2 separate regions of the Homo sapiens genome follow, and region 1 is linked to region 2. Evidence: promoter capture Hi-C in human tissues and cell types (Jung and others, 2019). All regions are on one chromosome and are shown on one strand. Each heading gives the region's core, a stretch centred on a gene start or on the middle of the fragment in contact. The rest is flanking DNA. Distances are from core to core; before and after follow the strand shown. Region 1 holds the start of CLIC6 (chloride intracellular channel 6). Region 2 overlaps LINC00649 (long intergenic non-protein coding RNA 649).

Region 1 (4,904 bases), core at 1,186-3,685, 710 kb after region 2:
AATTATATAATAGAAAATTTTAAAATGCTTATTATCATTAAGTGAAAAATTCTACATTCTGCAGACAGAATGTTATTTTGAGAGCCAATGTTAATGTGAGTAAATGACCCCAAACCCTATAAAAGAATAAATCCAAACCCTATAAGATCAAATAGCCTTGTGTGATCCACAGGATCAGTTTCCAGGACAGAATAGACTTTATTAGCATTGTTTTTCTGCAAGGACATTATTCAGGCCAGTTCTCAGCCACTCAGCCAACAGCTTTGTTTCCGACTGTGCCAAGTCTGCAAACAGTAGCTGATCATCTTTAGCTCAATTCAAAAGGAGGTTTTTCTAGATATTCCAACCACACCCCCCCCCAATAGCCAGCACATTTCTATCAAGTTTGATTGAGTTAGAGTTTATGAAATATTTCCTGAATGACTGAATACACACGTGCCTTCAAATACATATGCACCAACCTGAACTAGTTTTGGAAAATACTTTCCTCAGTTAGTTTTATACTTTGGGGGGTAAGCTAATGTCACAAGACACTCTATTGACAGAAATTCTTATCTACTGACTTTGCTAAAAGAATTTGCTAAATATTATTACTCGCATGAGTGTCTTTAATTTGGTTCTTTGTAAACATTGAGCATTGAAGACGGTTTGTTATTAAGGACAAAGTTATGTATCTAACTAATCTCACATTTTTCTAAGCAGCGCAAATAAACCCAGAGCCCTTCAATGGTTCACAGGTCCACAATCCTTTTATACACATTCTGAAATCCTAAAAGGCTCTGAATACTGAAAGCTGTTTTGGGAACTCATCTAGAATCAGAACCAGAAAGGCTTGAACTCAGCTGGAGGTGAACCTAAACTGGGGGTGGGGGGCCTGAAGCTTGTATGATTTTACCATATCTCACCAAATGTGATGCCTGTCTTACTGCAGAAATATTAATGTGTTTGATCACAAAGTGATGTTCTGTGTTATGTAATATACAGTAAAATCACTCAATCATCTTTCTAACAATTCTGTTTTCTGAAACACATCCGGGCTCATGGGATTTGCATAAAGCACTGTAAACCTGTACTGTGTTTGCTGTTCCGGGCTGAACGTGCTGGCTTCATCTTTCTTTACAAGATAAGGGTGATGGCTGCTACCTTGCCCCGGTGAATGCAGCAGGATTCCTTTTCTAGGTGCCTAGAGCTTTTACGGCTCACGTGCATCTCTGGCTCACCTGTGTGAGTGTCATGCTTTGACTAGATGCCACTTTGTGGTGATGAAGCTTCTGGCCTGTACCTACCCAGACAGAGCACAGCCTTGGAGAAAGGTAGCATGAAGCTGAGTGTCTCTGGGCTCCTGTCCTGTCATCCATCAGTGATGAGCAATGGGAAGTAGAAGGAGACACATTATGTTCATGGCCAAAGGTGTGACCCCAAGCCACATCAAAGGCACACCCAGCTCTTTCAACGAAAACAACCTTCTGTGGGCATGAGGGGCTCATGTATCTTAGGCCAATATCAAAGCCATATAAAGCCTGATGAATCAAGTCAGTCTTGAGCTGGGATCCCCGTTCCACCACATTTACATAGTGCCACCTTGGGTAACCCAGTTTCTTGGTAACCCACTAGAAGTAGCCTGGCTTATAATAAACTTACGACATACTTTTCACCATAATAACTTCCTTTTTAAAGTAGGTATTGGGTCTGTGATCCTGGGAGAACCCTAACCCAGGGAATTCCATAGCTCCCCTCTTTCACATCTTGGATTTTCTTTTCTCCACCTCCAGATTCCCAAGCTCTTAACTTGGAGGCAGAAGCACTGGTGGTGAGTTTAGAAATCTAGGAGAATCAGCAAGATACACAGACTCTTACAGTCTTAAGAGACCCGGGAGATGAAGGTGTAACCTTTTTCCAGCGCAGGGCTCCCACGATCCTCCAGACAGGCCCGGAGAAGCGGACCCTCATGGACAACAGCGCCCATCTCTGGTCAGAGAAACTCGACTGGCTCCTTGTGCGTCTATATGAGGGGCCTCTGGAACCTCTCCGGGGGCCCTGCAGACATGGGAAGGCGGCCAGCGTAGCCTCCCCAGCTTCTTCTCTCAGGGATTTACACCCTTGCTCTTGGACATCAGGCACAATGTGGACATCTTCAGTTGGGTACCGGGGGAGCTTGATGCTTCACTCCTGGGGTAAGGTGGGGATTAGGTGTTTGGGTGTCGGGGTGTGTGTTTGGAGGGGGTGATTTAAGTGACTCTGGAACTTGAAGCCATTCTAGAGAACAACACCCAAGCGGCCAGGAGAACCAGAATCTTTTCATCAACATCCACAAGGGTCACGAGAAAGGCTGTCATTGGCCAAGCTCCTAGGCTACCCAAACAAAGGAGGGAGGAGGGGAAGACAAACCCCGCCCAAGCCCCAGGGGATGGAGTTGGCACCAAGGACTTCTGGTCAACCCCAGGACAGCGGACAGCGGGCCGGGCACTTCCAAAGGCGCAGGAGCGAAGCAGCCCTCTCCAGCCGTGCACTGCACCTCCGCGGCCCGCGGGCGAGATTGGGGTCCCGGTGGGAAGCAGACGCGCAATCGGGGAGAAGCTCCAGCAGTGGAGGAAGAGTCCAGGGAGTTTCAGCTGGGCAGAAGGGGCGCAGAGGCTTGGGGCCAAGCGGAGTTTGCCCTGCGGGTCCTGCGCAAGGCCCCAGTGCCCCGGCTAAACCTTTGCCGCAGGATCCCGGAGCCGGCGTCCTTCAAGGAGCACAGAGGGCCCCGTAGCACGCCCCTTGCCCAGCGCCACCGACCCTTAAGCAGCGTCAAGGAAGGAGTCCCGATCAAGGACAGGGATCTGCGGCCATGGCCGAGGCCGCGGAGCCGGAGGGGGTTGCCCCGGGTCCCCAGGGGCCGCCGGAGGTCCCCGCGCCTCTGGCTGAGAGACCCGGAGAGCCAGGAGCCGCGGGCGGGGAGGCAGAAGGGCCGGAGGGGAGCGAGGGCGCAGAGGAGGCGCCGAGGGGCGCCGCCGCTGTGAAGGAGGCAGGAGGCGGCGGGCCAGACAGGGGCCCGGAGGCCGAGGCGCGGGGCACGAGGGGGGCGCACGGCGAGACTGAGGCCGAGGAGGGAGCCCCGGAGGGTGCCGAGGTGCCCCAAGGAGGGGAGGAGACAAGCGGCGCGCAGCAGGTGGAGGGGGCGAGCCCGGGACGCGGCGCGCAGGGCGAGCCCCGCGGGGAGGCTCAGAGGGAGCCCGAGGACTCTGCGGCCCCCGAGAGGCAGGAGGAGGCGGAGCAGAGGCCTGAGGTCCCGGAAGGTAGCGCGTCCGGGGAGGCGGGGGACAGCGTAGACGCGGAGGGCCCGCTGGGGGACAACATAGAAGCGGAGGGCCCGGCGGGCGACAGCGTAGAGGCGGAGGGCCGGGTGGGGGACAGCGTAGACGCGGAAGGTCCGGCGGGGGACAGCGTAGACGCGGAGGGCCCGCTGGGGGACAACATACAAGCCGAGGGCCCGGCGGGGGACAGCGTAGACGCGGAGGGCCGGGTGGGGGACAGCGTAGACGCGGAAGGTCCGGCGGGGGACAGCGTAGACGCGGAGGGCCGGGTGGGGGACAGCGTAGAGGCGGGGGACCCGGCGGGGGACGGCGTAGAAGCGGGGGTCCCGGCGGGGGACAGCGTAGAAGCCGAAGGCCCGGCGGGGGACAGCATGGACGCCGAGGGTCCGGCAGGAAGGGCGCGCCGGGTCTCGGGTGAGCCGCAGCAATCGGGGGACGGCAGCCTCTCGCCCCAGGCCGAGGCAATTGAGGTCGCAGCCGGGGAGAGTGCGGGGCGCAGCCCCGGTGAGCTCGCCTGGGACGCAGCGGAGGAGGCGGAGGTCCCGGGGGTAAAGGGGTCCGAAGAAGCGGCCCCCGGGGACGCAAGGGCAGACGCTGGCGAGGACAGGGTAGGGGATGGGCCACAGCAGGAGCCGGGGGAGGACGAAGAGAGACGAGAGCGGAGCCCGGAGGGGCCAAGGGAGGAGGAAGCAGCGGGGGGCGAAGAGGAATCCCCCGACAGCAGCCCACATGGGGAGGCCTCCAGGGGCGCCGCGGAGCCTGAGGCCCAGCTCAGCAACCACCTGGCCGAGGAGGGCCCCGCCGAGGGTAGCGGCGAGGCCGCGCGCGTGAACGGCCGCCGGGAGGACGGAGAGGCGTCCGAGCCCCGGGCCCTGGGGCAGGAGCACGACATCACCCTCTTCGTCAAGGTAAAGCTCGCTTCCCTCAATTCTTAGGACGACCCCCTTCCATTCGAGGTCTTGGTCATCTCAGATCCCAGAGGGACGCGCAGGGAGGAACCCTTGGTGGTATCCTGATTGTCATCAGGCGCTTCCATGCGCGGGCGGTAGGCGGGACAGCCGGGATTTCCCGGAGAAGAGTTTCCAGGGCATTTGCGGGAGGACTCAATGGTTTGGAAGCAAAGACTTTGGGGGTGGGGGCGACGGGGAGTGCGATGGGGGCCAATGAGGATGTGGGGTTGTGGGTTCAGCATCCCACTGTCCTTTGACCTGAACATCCTAACCAGCCCTCCTAGTCAGGAGGTTATTAACGAATTAACTAAAAAGTTAAAAAAAAAAAAAAAAAAAAAGAAGAAGAAGAAGAAAAGCAACGCACCCTATTGGTGTTCAAAGGGATTTCTGCCAAAGGAAGCTTTAATACTTGAAGCCAAAAAACGCAGACAGGTAGGTTCAATGTGGGAGGTGCCTTCCAGACTCAATCTCGGAGACCCAGAGCTGGTCAATGTTTTCAACTCCAAAAAGGTATTCCATTTTGGTAGAATCAACAATGTACGTTTAGGGGGGAATGGAGCCTTATTGACATAATGTTTTTTGAACGTTTTAACATTGAATTTGGAAGAATACAAGATGCCGGTGACTTGAACATCATCTGCTTGTATGTCATGTTTTT
Region 2 (4,841 bases), core at 408-2,907:
AAAACTCAAACAATCCAAGAGACAGAGAAAAGAAACAAAGAAAAGACAGAGTAAGTAGGAAGTATAAAATAAAGCAATGGTAATAAAACTAAATATATGAGTAATCATAATGCATATAAATAGAATAAATTATTCAGTTAAAAGACAGAAGCTAGGTGTGGTGGCTCATGGCTTGAAGTCTCAGCTACTTGGGAGGATGGTGTGGGAGGACTGCTTGAGTCTAGGAGTTTGAGACCAGCCTGGGCACCACAGTTAGACCCTGTCTAAAAAAAAAAAAAAAGAGATTGTTAGAATAGGTTAAACACACACACACACACACACACACACACACACACACACACGCACATGCAGTCTAGTATTCTAGTATGCCTCTTGTTTAGAGAGTGACGCAGAAAGGTAGAAAATACACACCAGGGGAATACTAATCAAAAGAAAACTAGTTCGGCTATAGTAATAACAGACAAAATGGACTTTTTAATACATGTATAAAAACACTTTAAAGAGAAAAATAGTCACTACATATGATAAAAGGAACAGTTCATTAAGATACATTCACCTCCATTGACCTAGCAAGATCACCTTAAAACATATGTAGCAAAATTTTACAAAATTAGGAGGAAAAATAGACAAATCCATACTTGTAGTGAGAGATTTTAACATACCTCTCATAGTAATTGATAAACCAAGAAGACAGAGAATTAGTATGATTATGGAACATATAAACAATATAAGAAGCTTGAACAATAATTATATGTGTAATTTTACACTCAACAATCAGAGAATAGGCCGGGTGCAGTGGCTCATGCTTGTAATCCCAGCACTTTGGGAGGCTGAGGTGGGTGGATCATTTGAGGTCAGGAGTTCCAGACCAGCCTGGCCAACATGGCAAAACTCCGGGTCTACTAAAAATACAAAAATTAGCTGGGCATGGTGGCGGGCACCTGTAATCTCAGCTACTCAGGAGGCTGAGGCATGAGAATCGCTTGAACCCGGGAGGTGGAGGTTGTAGTGAGCCGAGATCATGTCACTGTACTCCAGCCTGGGCAACAGAGCGAGACTTCGTCTCAAACAACAACCACCCCGCCCCCCACTGAAAAAAGTTAGAGAATATACATTCTTTCTAAGCAGATACAGAAAATATACAGATTTTGACCATGTACTGGATATTTATATCATGAAGCTATTTATGTAAAGCTTAAAAACCCATAAAACTATACTATACCATATTCATGGATCTTCATAAAAAACATAAAATACATGGGGGCAATAGATCCTACATTCAGGCTGTAGGTTTTTCTGCAGTTGGAAGGAGGAAAAGGGGATGGGGGAGGGACATATTAGGGGCCTCAGCGGTATATGTAGTGCTTAAAACAACCTTAAATAAGAGATCAGCTTCCTGTCCTGATCCAGAAGGAGTCTAACCTCTAAGCCTCTCTCTCTCCCACTGATTATAACTAAAACTTTTAAAAGCAGAAAATACTTAAGACTTGGAAAAGTCATAGCATGCAGACTGAGGAAGGGAGTCAAAACTTGAAGAATGAATTGTTCAGAGCTGAATTTCTCATTTTCCCCCATTCTATTTCCCAACTTTGATCTGAGGGCAGCCTAGTTGTGGACCTAAAATCCTGAGAAAAACCCTGTATTTCTGGCCAGAGGACTGAGAAAATGGATCCCTGGGAACTAGATAATAGGGCAGCAGTCCCCAACCTTTTTGGCACTGGGGACCAGTTTCATGGAAGAAAATTTGTCCATGGACCTGGGTAGGGGGATGGTTTCAGGATGATTCAAGTGCGTTACATTTATTGTGCCCTTTTATTTCTATTGTTATTACATTGTAACATATAATGAAGTAATTATGCAACTCACCATAAGGTAGAATCAGTGGGAGTGCTGAGCTCGTTTTCCTGCAACTAGACGGTCCCATCTGGGGGTGATGGGAGACAGTGACAGATCATCAGGCATTTGATTATCATAAAGAGCATGCAACCTAGATCCCTTGCATGCACAGTTCACAACAGAGTTTGTGCTCCTATAAGAATCTGATGGCTCTGCTGATTTGACAGGGGATCAGGCAGTAATGGGAGAGATGGGGACTGGCTGTAAATACAGATAAAGCTTCACTCGCTTGCTTACAGCTCACCTTCTGTTGTGTAGACCTGTAATGGTCCATGGCCCAGGGACTGGGGGCTCCTGGAGTAGGGGAAATGCTGGAGAAGAGGGATTCCTTAGTTCTGTGTATGGACCAACACAAATCTTGAGCTCAGCCTCAAGTTGTATATACCCAGGACAGACCTAAAAGTACTACTGCAAAGATTTTCACAACTGACCTGACACTAGAACCCTGCAAACAGAAGGCAAGACAGAACCTGTGATCTGAACACAACAGGGTTAATGGCCTGCTAAACAAATCGAAACCAACATTCTCTAGAAGTTTTACAAGGAGAATCTAGAATTTCATGGAATAATATTAGAAATGTACAAGATACAATCCAAACTTACTTGACACATAAAGAACCAGGAAAATGTGATTATTTTTTAAAGGAAAAGGCAATCGATTATGTTAATCCTGAGATGGCCCAGATGCTGAAGTTATCAGACAAATACTTTACTTGTTATAACCAAGCCCATGAGGTAAAGGTAAACACCTTAAAATGGAAAGAAAAAAGTGTTTGGCAAAGAAATAGAAACTATTATAAAAGAATACAATACAACTTTTGAAAATGAAAATTGTAATATCTGAAAAACAAAACTCATTGAATGGGCTTAATAGCAGAATGGAGATGGCAGAGGAGTCAGTGAACTTGAAGATGTATCTATAAAAATTATCTGGTCTCAAGGACAGAGAGAAAAAATGATTGAAAAAAATTAATAGAATCTCAGTGGCCTGTGGTACAAGACCAAAAGGTCTGACATTCTTGTTCTTGTAGCACCAAAAGGAAAGAGAAAAGAGACTGGATTATGAAAAAAATATATATTTGAAGAATTAATAGCTGAAAATGTCTTACATTTCGGAAAAACATACATTTGTAGATTTAAGAAGCTCAGCAAGTCTCAAACAGAATAAACCAAAAGGAAATCATGTCCAGATGCATCACACACTGTTGAAAACCAGATATAATTGAAAAATCTTGAAAGCAGCCAGAAATAAGTAACACATTATATATAGGGGAACAAGGATTCATATGACTGAGTATTTCTCACCAGAAACCATGGAGGCTAGAAGACAGTAGAATAACATTTTTAAAGTGCTTAAAGAAAGGAGCTTTTAACCCAGAATTCTATATTCAGAAAAAATATCCTTCAGGAATGATGGTAAAATAAATACATTCTCAGATTAAGAAAAAGTGAGAGAATTCTTTGGTATTAAACCTGCTCTAAAATAAATGCTAAAGAGAGTCTTACAGGCTGAAGGTAAATGATACCAGAGGGAAACTTGAAACTTCAGGAATGAAGGAAGAGCAACAGAAATGGTAAATATTGAGCTAAATAAAATACCCTATTTTTATCCTTTTAAATTCTTTAAATATTTATGGCTGTTGAAGGCAAAAATCATAACATTGGTGAGGTTCTCAATGTATATAGATATAAACATATGACAGGTATAACATAAAGGGGGAGGGTAAAAGTATGTATATGTTTGTCAGGCTCCTACATTTTACTTTGAATTGGTAAAATAGTAACTTGAAGTAGACTGTAAAACACTAGGAATGCATATTGCAATATCTAGAACAGTCACTATACACACACACACACACACAAAGAGATATTGCCAAAAAAGGCAACAGATACATTAAAATGAAATACTAAAAACTTTAAGTAATTCAAAAGAAGGCAGGAACAATGGAACAGAACCAAAACACACAGAGGACAAACAGAAACCACATAATACAATAATAGACATAAATTCAACCATACCAATAATTACATTAAATGTAAATGAGCTAAACATACCACTAAAAAAACAGAGATTGTCAGATTGGATAAAAAAGAAGACTCAAATATAAGCTGTCTACAAAAAGCTAATTTAAATATGACATAGGTTAAAAAAGGAAACAATATAAAGCAAATATGATGAAATGATAGAACCAAGTGGTAGATACCTGTGAGTTAATTCTGTTACTTGCTATTATATTCTATATGTTTGAAATATTTATAATAATAATAAAAGGTGATTGGATGATTTTTTACATAAATATTCTAGTCCTCTAGGGAGGAAAAAGGAAAGATTGGTTAATAGATACAAGTTACAGTAAGATGGGAGGGATAAGTTCTAGTGTTCTACGGCATTTTAGGGTGAATATGGTTAACAATAATTAAATGTACATGTTCAAAAAGCTGGAAGAGAGGTTTTTTTTTTTTTGAGATAGAGTCTTACCCTGTCACCCAGGCTGGAGTGAAGTGGAGTGATCTCAGCTTACTGCAACCTCTGCCTCCTGAGTTTAAGCAATTCTTGTGCCTCAGCCTCTTGTGCCTCTGCAGCTCTGTAGCGATTCTTTTTTTTTTTATTTTTTGAGACAGAGTCTTGCTCTGTTGCCCAGGCTGGAGTGCAGTGGCATGATCTTGGCTCACTGCAATCTCCACCTCCTGGGTTCAAGAGATTCCCGTGTCTCAGCCTCCTGAGTAGCTGAGACTGCAGGCTTGCACCACCATGCCTGGCTAATTTTTTGTATTTCAATAGAGACAGGTTTCACCATGTTGGCCAGGATGGTCTTGATCTCCTGACCTTGTGAGCTCCTGACCTCGTGATCTCCCACCTCGGCCTCCCAAAGTGCTGGGATTATAGGCATGAGCCACTGTGCTCAGCCTAAAAGAGAGGATTTTGATTGTCTGCAACACAAAAA

What was found. Contacts are between HindIII fragments. The study calls those that stand out against the background at their distance.
Region 1: a contact is called between the fragment with the promoter of CLIC6 here and a fragment that was not itself captured in region 2, in 1 of the 25 tissues and cell types used here (dorsolateral prefrontal cortex).

Annotation. Positions count from the first base shown.
Region 1 is chr21:34,666,559-34,671,462 of GRCh38, forward strand. It overlaps CLIC6 (chloride intracellular channel 6), which reads left to right and starts at 2,436. Exons shown (of 6, transcript NM_053277.3): 1 at 2,436-4,204. The coding sequence starts at 2,831. RefSeq lists silencers at 2,729-3,168, 4,069-4,148. The HindIII fragment of the contact is 4,429 bases long and covers 1,075-4,904 here.
Region 2 is chr21:33,955,924-33,960,764 of GRCh38, forward strand. All of the region lies in intron 2 of LINC00649 (long intergenic non-protein coding RNA 649), which reads left to right. Among named protein-coding and RNA genes, the nearest start is that of LINC00649, 27 kb to the left of the region's middle. The HindIII fragment of the contact is 4,732 bases long and covers 1-4,023 here.